3 separate regions of the Homo sapiens genome follow, and all the other regions are linked to region 1. The links are contacts of gene promoters, found by promoter capture Hi-C in human tissues and cell types (Jung and others, 2019). All regions are on one chromosome and are shown on one strand. The core of a region is centred on a gene start or on the middle of the fragment in contact, and the rest is flanking DNA. Distances in the headings are between cores, read along the strand shown. Region 1 holds the start of EPHX4 (epoxide hydrolase 4). Region 2 overlaps EVI5 (ecotropic viral integration site 5). Region 3 overlaps EVI5 (ecotropic viral integration site 5).

Region 1 (2,700 bases), core at 46-2,545:
CAATGGATTTAATTAACAGATACTTTATTGCACTGACTATGCATCAGGCATTGTTCTAAGTTTTTCGTGTTTGTTTTTATAAATATTAACCTATTTAATTCTCATGTCGACCCCAGGCAAGAAAGAAGTTCTCTTGCCCTTCTGAACTTCAGCTGCGGGGCAATTTAGCTCCTAACAGGAAATAAGGACTTGGTGACATAAACATCCCCTCTTATGAGGCTGGGTTTGAAAGGCCTGTGAGTCAGACTGCAGGGTGTATCACGGGAACTATTTCCCTTCACCACCTGGAGCCTCAGGAAACAGAATATTTGTGGGCTGTGAGGAAGCTTGAACAATTAGCGTCTGCAGGCATGGCTGGATTTACCTTTTATTCCATTCCTTTCTTTGGTCCCTGACTTCATAAGTATGCATTCCTCCCCACAACACACACAATTTACTTATTGTTTCATGCAACCTAAGTCGTCTGTGATCATAATAAACTCATGACTCCCAAAGACTGACTGTTTACTCTTATTATCTCTAAAATTGGGCAAGAACAGCCTCCTGAGACATTAGGATGCCACGAGGAACAATTCTCTACAGCTGATCTGAGCTCTAAAGGGCAAAAGGGTGACAGGAGACAGCTTCCCCTTGCAGTAGGAAAAAGAGCAGGTTTATTCTGGGTTGTTGTGGCGCCGGGGGGCAGTAATATAAGAGGCCCCTGATTAGAGAAGTTCCACATTCAGAAACCAATCAAGGTGCCTGCAAAGACCGAGTGCTGTTTATCTGTATCTCTCTCTCTCTCTCTCTCTCTCACACACACACACACACACACACACACACGACACACAGGGACCCAACCCCTCCTCCCCTCCTGCCAGGACACTAGGGGACGCTGAGCCAGCGTCTCGGAAGGAGAAGCCCGGAGCCCCCCACCCTCGCGGCGGTCACGCTCCCTCCCGCTCCCGCCAGGCCCGCGCGGCCCTTCACCTTGATCCGCACGTAGCAGTGGGTGCCCAAGGAGGGGTCGCTCAGGCACGCGGGAGGGTGCTCCCGGGCGGGCCGCCGGAAGGTCTGCGCCGGCCCCTTGCCGAGGCTCCACAAAAGTTTGAGCAGGTGGATGGAGGCGCAGAGCCCGCAGTAGCAGTAGACCAGGGACCAGAAGAGCAGGGACCGGAGCGTGAGCATCAGGCGGGGCAGGCAATCCCGCAGCCTCGCCATTGGGAGGCGGCGGCGGGGCCCACTGCCCTTCCTCGGGAGCGGGTGAGCGAGCGCCGCAGCGCGCCAGGCCAGCCCGCCGTCGCCTCTCGACGCGCGCCTCCCCCGGCCCGGGGCGGCCGGCGTTCCGTGTCACCGCGGCGGCTCCGCACACGCGCCGCGCCCAGCCCGGAGCGCGCAGGGGAGAGCCGGGCCTGCGGGGTGCGGCGGGCCAGGCCGGGGTGCAGAGCTTGGCTGTCTTCCGCGGAGAGCGAGATCCCGTTTCAAAATCGCAAAACTGTGGGGGAGGATGAAGGCGAGACTTTCCCAAACCATCCTGGGCACCAAAGAAGGTAGCGCCACTCAGTCTTCTTTGTTGTTCTCAATGTATCAAGCAAAACTATTTCTAAGCCCACATATTCGTGTGTCATAGTTCAGGGACACAGGTCAGCGACAAACTTCCATGCTATTACACCCAAAGAGATTCTTTAGAGTGCAAAATCACTCTGCACTCTGAAAGATACCAGCCTTCCTCTTCTCAAAATCTTTCGTGGAATCATAATTTCTGTAGAAATCCGCCTATGCCTTGCCTGGTTCAGCCACAGCAAACTTACAGAGAGCTGCAACCCCAGGGATACAACGAATGCTTCAACAACGTGACGCGGCAGAAGCCTGGCCAGAAGGCCACACACCTGAGAGTTCGTCGAAGGGCTGGAAGCCGTGAGAGTGACAGTCCTCGGTAGGTATCTCAGCCTCAGCACCGACATGGCCACTCTTGTCCTGACCTCTTCTATCGTCCAGTTCACTGTTAGAATTTCATTAAGCCTTTTCCCAATCACCGGGTCAGGTATTAAGTGTTCATTTTTTATGAGAAACTGTCAAACTGGTTTCCAAAGTGGCTGTACAATTTTGAATTTACTTCAGCATGTGTGAGTTATACAATTGACCTTTGAACAATGCGGGGGGTTAGGGTTGCTGAACCCTTTCACATCTGAAAATCCATGTATAACTTTTGAGTTCCCCCAAACTTAAGTACTAATAGCCTACTACTGACCAAAACAATTAACATATGTTTATGTATTACATACTGTATCTTTATAATTAAGAAAAATGTTAAAATCATAAGGAAGAGAAAATACATTTACTATTCATTAAGTGGAAGTGGATTATCTTAAGAGTGTTCATCCTTGTCATCATCAGGTTAGGTAAGCTGAGGAGGAGAAAGAAGAAGGGAGGTTGATCTTCCTGTCTTGGGGTGAGGGGGAGGGAAGAGGTGGAAGAAAATCCATGTGTAAGTGGACCTACACAGTTCAAACACATGTTGTTTGAGGGTTAACTGTATTTTGCTCTTTTTTTCTAGGGTCTTGAGTTAGGAACTTATTGAGACCTTTGCAATTTCTAATGCAATCATTTAGCACCTATACATTTCTCTCAGTACTCTTTTTATTTTATTTTTTGAGACGGAGTCTCACTCTGTCGCCTAGACTGGAGTGCAATGGCGCGATCTCCATCTCAGCTCACTGC
Region 2 (2,700 bases), core at 102-2,601, 510 kb before region 1:
TAATTAGAAAATTACTTATTTTCAATCTGGTATCCTTTCCTTAGAAACATACAAAATGCTGTCTGATTTTATCTGTATAACAGCTTTACTGAGACATTATTTACATATGATACAATGCACCCACGTAAAGTTTACAATTCAGTGGTTTTTAATATAGTCACAGTTATGCAGCTATCATCACAGTCAATTCTAGAACATTATCTCTCCAAAAAGAAATCCTATGCTCATTTAGCTTGTCACTCCCTATTTCTCTCCAAGCCTTATTCCCCCAACCCTAGGCAACCCACTAATCTACTTTCTGTCTCTACACATTTCCCAATTCTGGACATTTAATATAAATGGAATCATAGAACCTGTGGTTTTCTGTGACTGGCTTTTTCACTTAGTATAATGTTTTCAAGGCTCATTCATGTCGTAGCATGTGTCAGTGCTTTTATTTATTTTTGTCACCTAATAATGTTCTACTGTATGGATAAACAGGCATACCTGGCTTTATTATGCTTTGCTTTATTGCGCCTCAATAAATGGTTGTTATATCCTACTGTGTTTTTACAAAGTGAAGGTTTGTCGCAATCCTGCATTGAGCAAGTCTTTCAATGCCGTTTTTCCAACAGCGTGTGCTCACTTCATGTCTCTGTGTCATATTTTGGTAATTTTCACAATTTTTTAAACTTTTTCACTATTATACCTTCTGGTGATCTGTGATCATTGATCTTCGATGTTGCTATTGTAATTGTTTTTGGGTGCCACAAATTGCACTCATATAGTCAAAAGCCAGAAATGATTAAGCTGTGAGGCAGGCATGTTGAAAGCTGAGATAGCCTGAAAGCTAGGTCTGTTGCACCAAACAGTTAGCCAAGTTGTGATTGCAAAGGAAGAGTTCTTGAAGGAAATTAAAGTTACTACTCCACTGAAAACACAAATGATAAGAAAGCAAAGCAGCCTCATTGCTGATATGGAGAAAGTTTGAGTGATCTGGATAGAAGATCAAGCCAGCCACAACATTCTCTTAAGCCAAAGCCTAATCCAGTGCAAGGCCATAACTCTCTTCAATTCTTTGAAGGCTGAGAGAAGTGAGGAAGCTGCAGAAGGAAAGTGGGAGGCTAACAGAGGTTGGTTCATGAGGTTTAAGGAAAGAAGCCATTTCCGTCACATAAAAGTACAAGGTGAAGTAGCAAGTGCTGATGTAGAAACTGCAGCAAGTTATCCAGAAGATCTAGCTAAGATCGTTGATGAAGGAGGCCACCCCAAACAACAGATTTTGAATGTAGATGCAACAGTCTTATACCGGAGGAAGATGCCCTCTATGGCTTTCCTAGCGACAGAGAAGTCAATATCTGGCTTCAAAGCTTCAAATGGCTCTCTCGTTAGGGCCTAATGCAGCTGTTGACTTTAAGTTGAAGCCAAGTGCACATTTACCATTCTGAAAACCCTAGGGTTCTTAAGAATTATGCTAAATCTACTTTGCCTGTGCTCTGTAAATGAAAAAACAAAGCCTGGATGACTGCACATCTCATTACAGCATGGTAAAATAAATATTTTAAGCCCACTGTTGAAACCTACTGCTCAGAAAAAATGATTTCCTTCCAAAATATTACTGCTCAGAAACAATGCAACTAGTCACCCAAGAGCTCTGATGCAGATGTACATGGTGATTAATGTTGTTTTCATGCTGCTAACGAAACATTCATTCTGCAGCCCGTGGATCAAGGAGTAATTTCAACTTTCAAGTCTTATTATTTAAGACATCATTTCATAAGGCTCCATTACATAAAAGTACAAGGTGAAGCAGCAAGTGCTGATGTAGAAGCAGCAGGTTATCCAGAAGACATATAGTGCCATATATAGTGATTCCTCTAATGGATTTGGGCAAAGTAAATTGAAATCCTCCGCAAAGGGTTCACCATTCTAGATGTCGTTAAGAACATTTGTGATTCATGGGAGGAGGTCAAAATATCAACATTAACAGGAGTTTGGAAGAAGTTGATTCCAACCGTTTGAGGGATTGAAGACTTCAGTGGAGGAAGTCACTGCAGATGTAGTGGAAAGAGCAAGAAAACTAGAATTAGTAATGTAGTAGAGCCTGAAGATGTGCCTGAATTGCTGCAATCTCATGATCAAACTTGAATGGACGAGGAGTTGCTTCTTAGGGATGAGCAAAAAAAAAAAGTGGTTTCTTGAGCTAGAATCTTCTCCTGGTAAAGATACTGTGAACATTGTTGAGATGGCAACAAAGGATTTAGAATATTCCGTAAACTTAGTTGATAAAGCAGTGGCAGGGTTTGAGAGCATTTACTCCAATTTTGAAAGAAGTTCTACTGTGAGTAAAATGCTATCAAACAGCATCTAATGCTACAGAGAAATACTTCATGCAAGGCCGAGTGAGGAAGTGCAGCAAACTTTATTGTTGTCTTACTTTAAGAAATTGCCACAACCACCCCAACCTTCAGTAACTGGCCAGCCTGCTGCCACCAGCATCAAGGCAAGACCCTCCACCAGCAAAAAGATCCATTACTTGCTGACCACTCAGGTGATCATTAGCATTTTTTAGGAGTAAACCATTTTTAATTAAGGTATATACATTGTTTTTAAACATATACTGTTGCACACTTAACAGACTACAGTATAATGTAAAGATAACTTTTATATGCACTGGGAAACAAAATTCATGTGACTCGCTTTATTCTGATATTTGTATTT
Region 3 (2,700 bases), core at 58-2,557, 650 kb before region 1:
TTAAAGAGTGTACAGGCCAATTATTTTGTAGAAAATCTCAAAGTCTGAGTTTTTCTGGGATTTCCCCAGGATTAGATTCAGGTTGTGCATTTTTGGCAGGTATACCCCTGATATTATATCTTCTCATTTCACCATACGATATATATGATATTACTTTCTCTCAGAACTGGTAATGTTAGCTTTGGTCACTTGATTAAGGTGATGTTTGCTGGGTTTTACTACTGTAAAGTTATTATTTCCCCTTTTGTAATAAGTAATTTGTGGCAGGCTACTTTGAGATTATGTAGTAACCTCTTTCTTTACCAAACTTAACCATACCAGTTTTATATCCATTTATGATTTTCCCACTCCCTCATTCTTTATTTATTAATCAGCATTCTACTGTAAGGAAGAGCTTTCCCTTCACCCTCATTTATTTATTCATTTATTTACATCAGTGTGAATTCATGGATTATTTTATTCAGTGAGCTATAATCCATTACTATTAAATTATCCCTGATTTGTCCAGTGGGAACCCTTGCAACCTGGGTGCTTTGTTCTTTTGATATTTTCCCCATTATTCTTTGGGAATTTCCTTTCTTTGGGGCAACAAAATATTCCAGGTTCAACTTATACCTTCTTGGCTCCTGCGCAGTAATGAGCTATTTCTCCAGAGAGCTTTGATTACTTTTTTGTAAGCCTTTGAAATTTAGTCTGAAGGTGATGAGTAACCACTGACACGCTGGGTGTGGCGTGATCCAAATCAACATTTTAAAAAAAGATCACTCTGTTAATAGTGTATAGAAAATATTGAGTTATGAAACTGGCCATAGAAAGAACAATTATGAGTATTTTCCAGTAATTTAGACAAATCATAATGCGGGTCTAAAAACACTATCAGTGAAGGGGGAACAAATAACTTTACACTGGAAAAACCTGGTGTGTACTCCTTCAGCCAGATGATCAAGGTCAACATCAATAGTGATGTTCTGTTGATAGTTTGTACCCTTAGTATGAGGCAATGAAAACGGCATTTATGTCTGTGGTCTTCCTCCTGAAAACCCAATAACCCCAGTATAATCATGAGAAAAACATGAGACAAATCCCATTTGAAGGACGGAATGGTCCCTTTTGAAGATCACATAATGATAACTACAAAATACCTGACCAGTACTCCTCAAAACTGTCAAGGTTCTCATCAAAACTGTCATGGGCTTTAGGTAACAGCAATGTGTTAATATTGGTTCATTAATTATAACAATGTACCATACTACTGTAACATGTTAATAATAGGGTAAACTGGGATGGGATACATGGAATCTCTGTACTATCTTCACAATCTTTTTGTAAACCAAATATTTTTTTTTAAATTAAGTTTATTGAAAAACACTATCAGTGGAGTTAAATAAGTAGGGTTTATTTTTAGGTGTATAAATGAGTGATATTTTTACATAATGCATAATGATAACTACTTCAGAGTAGTCATTTGTGAAGGCTATAAACTTATTTCAGTAGTGCAGCTGTTGAAAATGTTTTGCAGCTCTTTGGAGTCTTTAATAAATTCTGTCGGCTATCTTATAGTCTTTTAAGACAGTGGTCCCCAGCCTTTTTGACACTAGGGACCGCTTTCGTGGAAGACCATTTCTCCACTTATGGGGGCTGGGGGTATGGCTTCAGGTTGAAACTGTTCCACCTCATGTCAGATCATCAGTCATGAGATTCTCATAAGGAGCCCGCAGCCTAGATCCCCAGCATGCACAATTCACAATAGGGTTTGCACTCCTTTGAGAATCTAATGCTGCCACTGATCTGACAGGAGGTGGAGCTCAGGCAGTGATGTTCACTTGCCTGCCGTTCACCTCCTGCTGTATGACCCAGTTCCTAACAGGCCACAGACTGGTATTGGTCCACTGCCCAGGGGTTGGGGACTGCTGTTTTAAGATACACTTTAGTGAGAGACAGAGTAATGTAGCAGTCAAATCTGTGACTATACAGAAGTTTCTCAAGCTTTCTAAACCCCAGAGTGGGTATAACAACTTATATTAAAAAGTTGTTGTGAGCTAAATGAGATAAGTAATAGATTTCTGTCCTTTGAGGGAGAATTTTATTTTTGAAAGCAGCTGTAAGTTATTTGGAGCCTGGTCTGGTTTATATTTGGAGTAACCTTGGTATTGATATTTTTTGTCAAGAGCAAGATAAAAAAAATTTGGTGGTACTAATTTTTGTGTGGCCTATACATTTTTATAAAGGTAAATTTAGACTTACCATAGAGTTGCATATCGTGCTTACTCTCCTCCAATCAGTGACAGACCACAGAGATGATATGCCCTTTTCAGGACATCTTTTTTCTTTTAAAAAAATGGTTTATCACTTTCTGGGCGTTGCAGGGAAGGGTCCCAGGCTGGAGTGCAGTGGCTAGATCATGGCTCACTGCAACCTTGACTTTCCTGGCTCAAGCAATCCTCCCACCTCAGCCTCTGAGTACCTGCAACTACAGGCATGCACCCACCGCACCTGGCTAATTTTTGTATTTTTTGTAGAGACTGGGTTTCACCATGTTGCCCAGGCTGGTCTTGAACCCCTGGCCTCAAGCACTTGGCCCCCCTTGGCCCCCCAAAGTGCTGGGATTAGAGGCATGATCCACCGTGGTCAGTGTCATGTTTTAAATTATTTTTACTTTTTAATAATTTTGACCTTTATTTTAAATTCAGGGGGTACATG

The links. The method cuts DNA at HindIII sites, captures the fragments that hold promoters and counts their contacts. A contact is called where the count stands out against the background at its distance.
Region 2: a fragment that was not itself captured here is called in contact with the fragment with the promoter of EPHX4 in region 1 in 1 of the 25 tissues and cell types used here (thymus).
Region 3: a fragment that was not itself captured here is called in contact with the fragment with the promoter of EPHX4 in region 1 in 1 of the 25 tissues and cell types used here (dorsolateral prefrontal cortex).

What each region holds. Positions count from the first base shown.
Region 1 is chr1:92,028,580-92,031,279 of GRCh38, reverse strand. It overlaps EPHX4 (epoxide hydrolase 4), which reads right to left and starts at 1,295. Exons shown (of 7, transcript NM_173567.5): 1 at 970-1,295. The coding sequence starts at 1,200. It overlaps LOC124904218 (a long non-coding RNA gene), which reads left to right and starts at 893. Exons shown (of 2, transcript XR_007066222.1): 1 at 893-1,915. RefSeq lists an enhancer at 1,095-1,596. The HindIII fragment of the contact is 17,230 bases long and covers 1-2,700 here.
Region 2 is chr1:92,541,738-92,544,437 of GRCh38, reverse strand. All of the region lies in intron 19 of EVI5 (ecotropic viral integration site 5), which reads left to right. Among named protein-coding and RNA genes, the nearest start is that of GFI1, 56 kb to the right of the region's middle. The HindIII fragment of the contact is 4,277 bases long and covers 1-2,700 here.
Region 3 is chr1:92,678,183-92,680,882 of GRCh38, reverse strand. All of the region lies in intron 9 of EVI5 (ecotropic viral integration site 5), which reads left to right. Among named protein-coding and RNA genes, the nearest start is that of EVI5, 110 kb to the left of the region's middle. The HindIII fragment of the contact is 3,514 bases long and covers 1-2,700 here.